Linked DNA regions of Homo sapiens: all the other regions are linked to region 1. Evidence: promoter capture Hi-C in 16 types of primary human blood cells and fetal thymus (Javierre and others, 2016). All regions are on one chromosome and are shown on one strand. The core of a region is centred on a gene start or on the middle of the fragment in contact, and the rest is flanking DNA. Distances in the headings are between cores, read along the strand shown. Region 1 holds the start of AIG1 (androgen induced 1). Region 2 has its middle 200 kb from the start of HIVEP2. Region 3 overlaps HIVEP2 (HIVEP zinc finger 2). Region 4 overlaps HIVEP2 (HIVEP zinc finger 2).

What was found. The method cuts DNA at HindIII sites, captures the fragments that hold promoters and counts their contacts. A CHiCAGO score of 5 or more calls a contact.
Region 2: a contact is called between a fragment that was not itself captured here and the fragment with the promoter of AIG1 in region 1, in 1 of 17 cell types (naive B cells). The highest score is 5.9, in naive B cells.
Region 3: a contact is called between a fragment that was not itself captured here and the fragment with the promoter of AIG1 in region 1, in 1 of 17 cell types (total B cells). The highest score is 5.8, in total B cells.
Region 4: a fragment that was not itself captured here is called in contact with the fragment with the promoter of AIG1 in region 1 in 1 of 17 cell types (neutrophils); the score reaches 5.3 in neutrophils.

What each region holds. Positions count from the first base shown.
Region 1 is chr6:143,059,622-143,062,146 of GRCh38, reverse strand. AIG1 (androgen induced 1) reads right to left here and starts at 1,258. Exons shown (of 6, transcript NM_016108.4): 1 at 1,081-1,258. The coding sequence starts at 1,221. RefSeq lists enhancers at 719-768, 1,369-1,498, 1,324-2,262 and silencers at 959-1,028, 1,279-1,368. The HindIII fragment of the contact is 5,617 bases long and covers 1-2,525 here.
Region 2 is chr6:142,739,942-142,742,466 of GRCh38, reverse strand. No RefSeq gene overlaps it. Among named protein-coding and RNA genes, the nearest start is that of HIVEP2, 200 kb to the left of the region's middle. The HindIII fragment of the contact is 7,865 bases long and covers 1-2,525 here.
Region 3 is chr6:142,760,340-142,762,864 of GRCh38, reverse strand. HIVEP2 (HIVEP zinc finger 2) reads left to right here. Exons shown (of 10, transcript NM_006734.4): 8 at 1,300-1,401; 9 at 2,198-2,525. Among named protein-coding and RNA genes, the nearest start is that of HIVEP2, 180 kb to the left of the region's middle. RefSeq lists an enhancer at 971-1,020. The HindIII fragment of the contact is 9,901 bases long and covers 1-2,525 here.
Region 4 is chr6:142,799,256-142,801,780 of GRCh38, reverse strand. All of the region lies in intron 2 of HIVEP2 (HIVEP zinc finger 2), which reads left to right. Among named protein-coding and RNA genes, the nearest start is that of HIVEP2, 140 kb to the left of the region's middle. The HindIII fragment of the contact is 4,351 bases long and covers 1-2,525 here.

The DNA.
Region 1 (2,525 bases), core at 9-2,508:
GCCTTTGGAAATTTTTAAAACAGGTATCATGTTCTCTTCATCAGAATGGAGGGTCAACAAGAGATTATAATCTTGCTGGTGTAGCCAACCAACTGTATAGTCTTGGATAAACAGTTCAGGGAGTCCCAGGAATTGGTTCTACAATTTCTCTGAGTGCTTTAGAACTTCATTGCTTTTGTTTTAAGCCTCTTCCTAATAATCTTTTAGCGTGTGTCTTAGTCACCTTTACCCTGAAATTCCTAGGTCCATCCATGAGTTCATTATTGGGCCTTATGCCCATGTTCTGTTCTCCAGGGAGGTTGAAGAGGGCCTTTTAGTGCCAGAAATAGAAAAACTTTCAAAATGATATACTAATAATAACCTGCACCTGTCAAGATTATCATATTGTGCCAACAGAGGAGCTGCTTATGCAAACTACTGTAAATTTGTACATGGGAAGACAGAGAAGTGTGTACAGTCACCTTGGAAATGCACTTTGAACATCTCTGTCTCCTAATATGTACGGGGTAAAGGTTGAAAGTAAATTATTGACAATGGGGGAAAAAAACAGATGCAAAGAAGACAACTTTATTAGGTGCTTTCTCTCCCTTATGAGAAGGATTTGGTTCTTTCAGGTGAAGTTCCAAATCACTAGACAATACCCAGTTTCCTTCAGTTGCAACAAGTTCATCCCACGGTGGGTGCTCTGAAAAGCACCTTGAGGGCGAATGGGTCTCAGGCCATTCAGGATCAGGTCCGATGCTTTTGTTGAAGATTCTTCCCGTGTCACCTCTTAGAAGCAGTTCGGTGTCCCCCTCCAAAGAGCCCACCACCTGGCTGCGCCCCACCTCCATTTGTCCCCCAGTTGCCAGGTAAGGGTACCCAGCTACCAGGTAACGGTGAGTGGTTCAGAAGGTGCCGCTGCGGGGGCAGCCAGGCCTTCACACGCAATCACTGGGGAAGAGGCGAGGACACGGGTGGATGCTGGAGGCGCGCACGTGCGCAGGTGCTCGCGCATCCACACACACACACACACACACACACACACACGCACACACAGGCACGGGGTGCGGGGCGAGCAGGGGGAGGGGACGGCCTTACCAGATCAATGAACGTCAGGAATTTCCAGCTCCCTCCGTAGGTCTGGTGTGAGGGCATTTCGATGGCCTTGTAGTTACACAGGATAGAGCAGTAAGACAGCAGGATTGCCATCCGCAGCACCTGGCAGGGGACAAGCGCCATGTTCGCCAGAGGCCTGGACCGGCTGGGCGGCAAGGAGGGCGGGCGTGAGGGAGGCGCCGGGCGCGCGGGGGCGGGCGCCGTGGGAACCCGGGCGCGGGCGCGGGCGCGGGGCGGGGCGGGGCGGGGGCGGGGGCGGGGGCGGGGCGCGCGCCCCCGGGGACTGGCGCGGCCGCGAGCGCCCGGGTGACCTGTACTGGCCGGGCGCGGTTTGCGGACGCTCTCCACTGCCGGCCGCGGCCTGGCAGGCGGCGTGTCGTCATCTCTTTCGTCACCTTCGTCATTCTGCTCCTGCGTTCGCAGGGTCCCGGGACACCCGGCCAGGAGGCGCCCCCTAGGCATCCCAGGTGTGGATGCGACCTCTGAGTGCTACGAGGGCTCGGGAAGTGCGCGCTGATCTCCAGGGGGAAGCGGGCCCTGTGGCTAGTGGGCGCCGGGCCGGGCGAGGGGGCGGGGAACCTAGACTGAAGGAGTGGACCCCAGTGTCCACAAATGTTCCCGCCCCGGAATCGCGGTGACGCTTCCTGGGGTAGTTGCAGTTGGCCGAGAGCTGGTGCCCCGTGCGGAGGGATCCGGTGGGGGTGTGAACGTGGGGTGTAAACCCGAGCACAGGCAGCCGCGAGTGACTTTCAGTATTTTGGGGCAATAAGGTTTTCAGTGTTGACAAACGACTGTCAATCACTAGGAAACTCTCTCAATTCTGCTTTCAATGGGTAGGCTACGCAGCACTTTTCCATGACAGATTGAATAATGTCATATCAGTATATAACATCAGCTAGAATATGAACTTTGGACAAGAGGTTTATAGATAAAAAGCTATAAAGAAAGGATTTTCAAATAACTTTCTGCCACAAGATTGCATTCAGCTTTAAAAAATTCCAATTTTGGATGTAAAACCCCTGCGTGTAATTTAATACTAATCATCTGGTTGTTAAACTGGTTTTGCCCTTACTTTTTTCTTACACTACACTACCAGGGCTTAATGGAAGGAAAATAAATATAAACTGGAGTCCCTCCTGCCTTCCAGTAAATGTTGTCACACTGAAGTTGCATCAGTCTGTGGGCAACATTTTCATTTCAGCCAACCAGTTGCAGGTTCGGATTATGAAAAGGCAACATAGGTATTTCCTGTGGATCCATTTAAAACAGGTGTCCTCTTCAAATAGTCTCTGAGTCAGAGGATGTGGAGGGAGGGCTGGTGGGGAGAAGCATAGTGCTAGAGGTAAAGAGAAAGTAGCAAGCAAGCCATGGATGTTTTCCTGAATGTTTCCAATCAAGCTCTAAACTAAAATGAAGAGACCCACTAG
Region 2 (2,525 bases), core at 15-2,514, 320 kb after region 1:
ACCCCCACTTCAGATTTGCTTTATAATGAAACAGAGCTTGATTCTAGGCTCACATAAATCCAAATGAGTATTTCACTTTCGTGTCCCATTTAGAGTAACATTCAAGTTTACAAAATGGTTCTGCTCATTGGTGGAACTCCAGTGTTGGAGAATCTTAATCACTAAATGCCGGCAGCACCCTGTCATCATAGCACCAATCAAAAGCCTCCATGAATTTCCAAAATGCCCTGGGGTGTGTTTGTGTGTGATTGATACTGCCCTGGTTGAGAACTGCTGATCTATTTGAAGCTAGAAGTTAATAAAGATGAATCGAAATTCATTAGGCAGAATTATTTATTAATCCTAGAAAACTTGTCCTCAATATCATAGAATCAAACATTTTGAGTATTATGTCTAAGAAACTATTTCAAAGCATTTGACAGTTTCTATAAGCACATTTTGAATATAGTTGCTGACACATAAATATATCTATAATGTGTTAAGACTATTACTATTTAAGTCAATTTAAAAATAATGATGTCAAAACTGCTTTTGTTACTACTGTGTTGCTGCTAATACTAAGATGATTGCATTCAAATCAAAGTCACTCAGACACCAGGATCACTCCTATTTCTACTACGCTACCGTAGCCCATGTAGTCTCACCATGACCACGTTTATTTAATTGTAGTGACATAGAGGATCTGAAAAATGCACAAACATGCAAAAATTACTTGACATACACATTTAAGGATTTTCAAATTGACCTATACCAAATAGATTCATAGGAGTAACTGCATTTCTTCATTCCCTTCATAAACCAAGCTGAACACTCCAGACTGCTCTCTATACAACTGTGCACTTTTCCTGTTGCCAGTTGAATTGTGTGCAGTTGAATTCAATCCCATACCAATGTATGCAAGTTTTGTGGATTATTATAATTACTTGATTTAAATTCCACATGAATCTATAAAATATGAGTGCAAAAAAGAGTGCTTTTATCTATGGCTGTTAAGTTAAATGCTTTGGAAAGAATAAGGAAAGGTCATTAAGAAAGTGGCAATTGAATTATGTGTGGGCAATTAGAAAAACTAAAAATTAAAAATGACTCTGCCTCCAATTTGTTACTGAATGTCTTCCAATACTCATTCCACTTTAAACAAGGTGAAATTATCATTTTGGCAATGTATTATAGTTAGATTGTATTTATGTTACCTGACTGGATCTCCAATCACAGCCCAAAGCTGAAACGGAAGATGGTACACCACTCTCCACCAAAGGATGACAAAGATGCATGTACATTTCAGAATTTTTTAAGTTAAAATATTTAATGTATTATGTATCAACTTGTATGATCCATTGTCATTTTAAAATTAATCTGCAATTAGTTCTGATTGCATTATGTAAGACTACTTTTCCTATGCATCACTTTTCTAGAATTTAGGATGGTATCTCCAAACCACAACAGCTAATAATGGTATATTCGCATATAGGATAAATTAGAGAGATACATATCATTTGTTTCTCTTTATAACTTTGGGTCCAGGATAAATGAATGTGGTAAATAAAAATAACCTCTCTGTCCTAAATTCCTGAACAAAATAATAAAGACAAAAGCCAAAATATGTAAGGAAAATTCCAGAATGAATACTTACTGTTTTCTCTCCTAACCATCTGTTTCCACATTAATCAATCATCTTCTATTTCATGAGATGGATAGGAGAGATTAATCATCTGCACCTTAATCTAAAAATGAAAACATTACCATAGAAACCTTCTTTTCACATTCTTTAACCATGAGTGAGAGCTCCGAATTAAAATATCTATTTTGAGGCCAACCAGTAACTATAAACACCAATAAAAACAAATGCTGCTGGGTCGGGGAAGATGGCAAGAATGAGCAGGAATGGTATTTTGGAATGCCACTTTCTTTCATTCCAAATTTATGAGAGAAAGACCTGCCCATTTTTTAGGTACACTATATGCCATCCAACATTTTGAACTTGGACGTGCTCCAGAAAATCCGTACTAGCTCCCCCTTTCAGTTTCTGTAAAATTCCAAGAACAAATCCTTTGCTGTTTCCTTAGTTACTCTAAATAAGGTGTCATCAATATTTAAAGAATGGAGATCTTGGAAAGTATGGGATGACTCCAGAGCCAGGCCTTACACTTCTCTTCATTCTACCTCCTTCCTTCCGAATGCTGCATGCTTCCAGATTTACAGGTGTATTAGTCTGTTCTCATGTTGCTAATAAAGACATACCTGAGACTGAGTAATTTATAAAGAAAAGAGGTTTAATTGACTTACAGTTCTGCATGGCTGGGGGGAGCCTCACAATCATGGTGGATGGCGAATGAGGAGCAAAGTCACGTTTTATATGGCGGCAGGCAAGAGAGTGTGTGTAGGGGAACCATCAGATCTCATCAAAAGTATTCACTATCACAAGAATAGCACAAAAATGACCTGCCCCCATGATTCAATTCAATCACTGGGTCTCTCCCATGACACATGGGAAGTATGGGCACTACAATTCAAGATGAGATTTG
Region 3 (2,525 bases), core at 14-2,513, 300 kb after region 1:
GAAATATTTCTGTTTGGAATTATTCAAAACAGCATGTAAAATTTATAAGTATATAAGCAATAAGTAAATAATAAAGCAATATGAGTAAAATAATAAACAACAGTGTCCCAGTTTTAACTGTGGCTCATATATTACATGAACAGCAAGCTGAACACCCCTACCAGAGGAATAAACTGTGCTAGCAGGCTGAGTTTCCACGGAGATTTCACAGAGCCTTCTCTTAAAGTATTTGTTGGTACATTGCTAAAGCGTTGTCAAGGGCACAGATAACATTATGGCTATTTTCACTGAAGTGATGTAAAGGCGCCTTACAACTGAATTAGTTCCTGAATCTCTTTTGATAAGTTATATGGCATATAATTTATATGTATGTGTGTGTGTGTGTGTGTGTGTGTGTGTGTGTGTGTGTGTGCATTCTTCTGTAGATCCTGGGTCAACGAGGATTGGAACAATGTTTTCAAAATTTCTCACATTTCATAAAGCAGTTATACAAATTATATATATAATTTATATCCACACATGTATATACACATATAATTGTATATGCCATTATCATTATAACATATTCAGCATGAAACCTTTCTTTTTTGTTAGTGTGATAGGAGCCTGAAGATAAGTAAAGAGGGAATGTTGCTGCTCCAGAATTTTAGGAATTGCTGTCATAACTTTTGCTAACATATGCCAGACAGATAGATGCTAAATACTGGGAATAATGCTCCCTATGAGTAGTTAGCTAATTATTTGTATGGATCTTTCAGAGCACTGACAAGGTTGGCCCTCACATTAGTTTGTATGTATTTTTCTTCTGAATGGTGAAGATCCTTGGAGGTTACTCTGTACCTGATCAGTCACAGAAGGTCAGGGGCCCAGTGGGTGTGTTGAGAATATTTCATTCTGAAGTATCTCTGAGGTGTGTGGCCAGATTGCGTTTCCTGTTTCTGTGGAGTCCCAGGAGGCTGGTGTATTTGGGTAGATATGAGGTCCCTTCTCAGGCAGAAAAGCCTGGGATTTCTAGTCTTGCTTTGAGCCTACTCTTGAAAAGATGTGAGCCTGGACTTCCACATATCTTCTAGAATAAAGAATATCTGAGATTGGGCCAAAGCTCTCAGGGATTGATATCTTCAAAGACCAGATTATTCTTCTTAAGGTTGAAACAAGGGGTAGTGGGTAGAAACAAATCTGTGTTACATGATGAATTTAATAAAATTAGTTCATTTCACATTGAATTTGGAGCAGCTATCAGCAGTTATTAATTTGATAACCAATTAATTTCTCTCTTTTTTTTGCTACATTTTCAAGGAAACCTAACGAAGCATATGAAATCTAAAGCACACATGAAAAAATGCCTGGAATTGGGAGTCTCAATGACATCGGTGGATGATACAGAAACTGAGGAAGCAGGTGTGTATGTCATAAATGAGTTGACAGACCTCTTCATTATGCACAGTGGAGCTCTGTGGCTGAGGTAGTAAAATAAGTTTAGATATTTTTAAAAAGTGATCACTTTTCATTTTATTAAATACTAAATATAGAAAATAAAACTGACACATTGAATTGCTTGAAATCTACTGAGAAGAAATGCATTTCAGTTTTGACTCCGAGGGCAAAAAAGGCCTTACTTTGAAAATACTTATATTTAGAGCCTTCTATGAAGGGAATAGAATTGCACTTGCTTTGTGATAGCAAATTAGATTTTATGAGGCTTTTTGGGGAATTTGAAAAGCATTTTAATGTATTATTATTCAAGTTAAGAAGAAACCCAGTAGGAAAACAAATAAACTAGCAAACAAACATCATTAAGGTTGGCCAGACCTCCTGAGTTACATCACTTAGACATACGTTTGTACCTGAGCTTGCAGAGACAGGTTGTTGCCTTTCTTTCTCCTCTAGCATCATAATTAACATTATCCATGCTCATTTGTTGAGGGTTTTCTGTGAGTGGGATGATGTCTGAGATATAAAGTCCTACTATGGAATCTTTCTTGTAAGTTGGGGATGAAAACAAATAGATATACAAGAAGATAGAATGAACGCAGGGTCACACAGGTAAGTGCCTCATTTTATAGGAGTTCTCAGACATAACTATCTGTGGGCACTAGGGATTGGGAAAAGCGTTTAGAAAGAAATGAGGCTTAAATAAGATCCTAACCTTGATATTTGGATCTTGATCTCCATTATCTTTGTTTAATTGTTTCAGAAAATTTGGAAGATTTGCACAAAGCAGCAGAGAAGCATAGCATGTCCAGCATTTCAACTGATCATCAGTTCTCCGATGCTGAGGAATCAGATGGTGAGGATGGAGATGATAATGATGATGATGATGAAGATGAAGATGACTTTGACGACCAGGGAGATTTAACACCAAAAACAAGATCAAGAAGCACCAGTCCTCAGCCTCCTAGATTCTCCTCCTTGCCTGTGAATGTTGGCGCCGTACCCCACGGGGTTCCTTCAGATAGTTCCCTGGGACATTCTTCGTTGATCAGCTATTTGGTTACTTTGCCAAGTATTCGAGTTACTCAGCT
Region 4 (2,525 bases), core at 20-2,519, 260 kb after region 1:
TTCATATCTTACAATGATCTAGTGATTTTCATTTTCATATTGTTTTCACATATGGAGATTCACTTAGTTCTTACAGTAACCCAGGAAGATAGCAGGGCAGGAATTATTGTGTCCATTTTATAGATGGGAAACCAAGTCCCACTAAGTGGAAGTGACTTATACAAGGGTACATAATCAGGAGAGCTGAATTGGTCTGCTAACTGAGAGGTGATGTGGAAATACTAGATCTGGAGTAAAAGAGAATTCGCTTAGATTCTTGTAATTACTGGCAATCACTATCTCAGTGATCGTTGGCCTTATTTAGCTTTTGCAAGTGAGAATGTTATCTAACTTTCTCAAGTGAGAATTTTTTTTTTTTTTTTTTTTTGAGACAGAGTCTCACTCTGTCTCCCAGGCTGGACTGCAGTGGCACAATCTCATCTCAGCTCACTGCAACCTCCGCCTCCTGGGTTCAAGCAATTCTTCTGGTGAGAATGTATTTTATAGTCTGCTGACATTTGCCTTAATCTAGTGTTCTTTTCATGCTATCATAGTACCTCTTAACTGAAGGTATTGTGTGTATTCCCTCGTTTTTTTTTTTTTTTTTTTTGACACTGGCCACTGCTTGACCTCATACCTGGTGAGTCCCTGGGAAAGGTCCTCTCTTCTGACCTGCAGAGAACATCAGAACTGAATAGACAGGGCAAGCCGAGCCATCACATGGGCTACCCTGGCCTCTTTTCCTTGTGCAGGCTCAGTCCATTATGTTCCCCACACTATATAGTGAGGTGACTCCTACAGTATTCACTCTGGTCAAAATGTAGAGGTTTCTGCCAGTTATCACTATGTAACTAGTCTTTGTCAAGAAATGCCATTATTTACTCATTAACATCAAAAAGCAACAAAAGATAAAATTATGATCTTCTAAAGCTATTGTCTGTTATAGCACATGACCTTTCTGAGCCGTTTGGATTAGCCTAGGGAGAGACACTCAACATCAGAACAGAAGGATCTTTCCAGTTTTATATAATAGAGCCAGTTCTTTGAATTATTTTCATAGATCTAAATATCTTCTATGCATTTTGAGGGATTCCTCCTCCTAAGCCTCTCAAATTCTCCTTTTTTTATTTTCTGTTTATCATCCCTGAGAATATTAAAGGGAAGCATTTCTAAGATTTTAGTTGCTGGTTTTAAATTTTAATCTCTCTCAATAAAACTAAATCATTCTCATCAAAAAGATACTTATCACTCTAAGCAGAAAATGTATTCTTTTATAAATTTACTTGTGATTAGTCATGCATTTCTTGTTTCTGAGCATATTAGGCATATATAAAAATGAAGGCCAAATACTTAGAAACTTAAGATGATTAGCTTGGAAAGGAACCCATTGTTTCATAGAGAAGCATAAATCCAGTGAAGATGCCATCTGACAGTTAGAGTCCCACCATATTAAACTTGAATTCTGCACTTTGCATACTAGAGGCAGAGGTGCTTAGTAAGTGTTAATAATGACTAATATGATACCATGGTTGTTAATTGAATATTGTCATCTAAAAATTGAAGTAGTAGACATGCACTTCAGCAGCTCAATGTGGTGATGCTGTCTTCCTAGGTTTAATTCCTCAGATATTTGTGAGCTATTAAGACCATTTATTCCACACCAGCCAAATGCAGACATTTTCAGTGTTTTTTGCTGCCACCTGGGTGTGTGGTAGCCCAGACAATAAATCTGAAGTAAAGGGAAAATATTTGCTGCTTAGTCTAATTTCTGGGAAAGTTCTTGGGAAAAAATGAGGTTTTTCAATATGCTAGGAAAAAAATAGCCTTTAGCAATTTGACCCTGGTTTGAGAAGACTCTTGGTCATTGGCATTAAGTGATATATGGCTTTTCATGCACAAATGAGCAAGGAAAATTTCAAACTAATCAGCGATGCTGGGTTCCTGTCATGGACCTGGTGCTGATGTATCATTCCCTGCTAGACTGCAAAGGGACTATGTTTGTGGACTAACTGCATCTTAGCCCAGAGGCTCCCCTGCTGTTTGATGTCACTAGTTTGCTATTCTACCACCTTGAACTTTAATTGCAGTTTCAGATAGCATTATAGAAGTTAGTTGACAACTCTGATGTTTGGGACTTCAATAAGGTTTTGGGGAAAACATGCTTTCAGCAGGTGTTGATTTTTCAAATAATTTGTTGATGTTGCAGCTGTCCACTGATGACCAGAAATTTACTAATTTTTAGTCACTTCAATAGTGACTAGTGACAATGAATAGTAATATGAATATTCATTTCTTCCAAGAAGAGATAATGCCTGATGCTCTGTCTCCTCTTTTCTTAGTGGTTTAGCCCCTCAGCAAGAAATGGCTGTCCCTGAAATGGACAAGATTCATATTCCTATCTGTCTTTTAAGGATGCCTAGGTGTTACCATAGATAGCGCTGTCTCCTCCCGGGCTGCACTTAGGACGAGAATGTTGTTTCCCACTGACAAGCCAAAAAAATGAGTTACATTTAATGGCTAGTCATTATGACATAATACAAGAACAA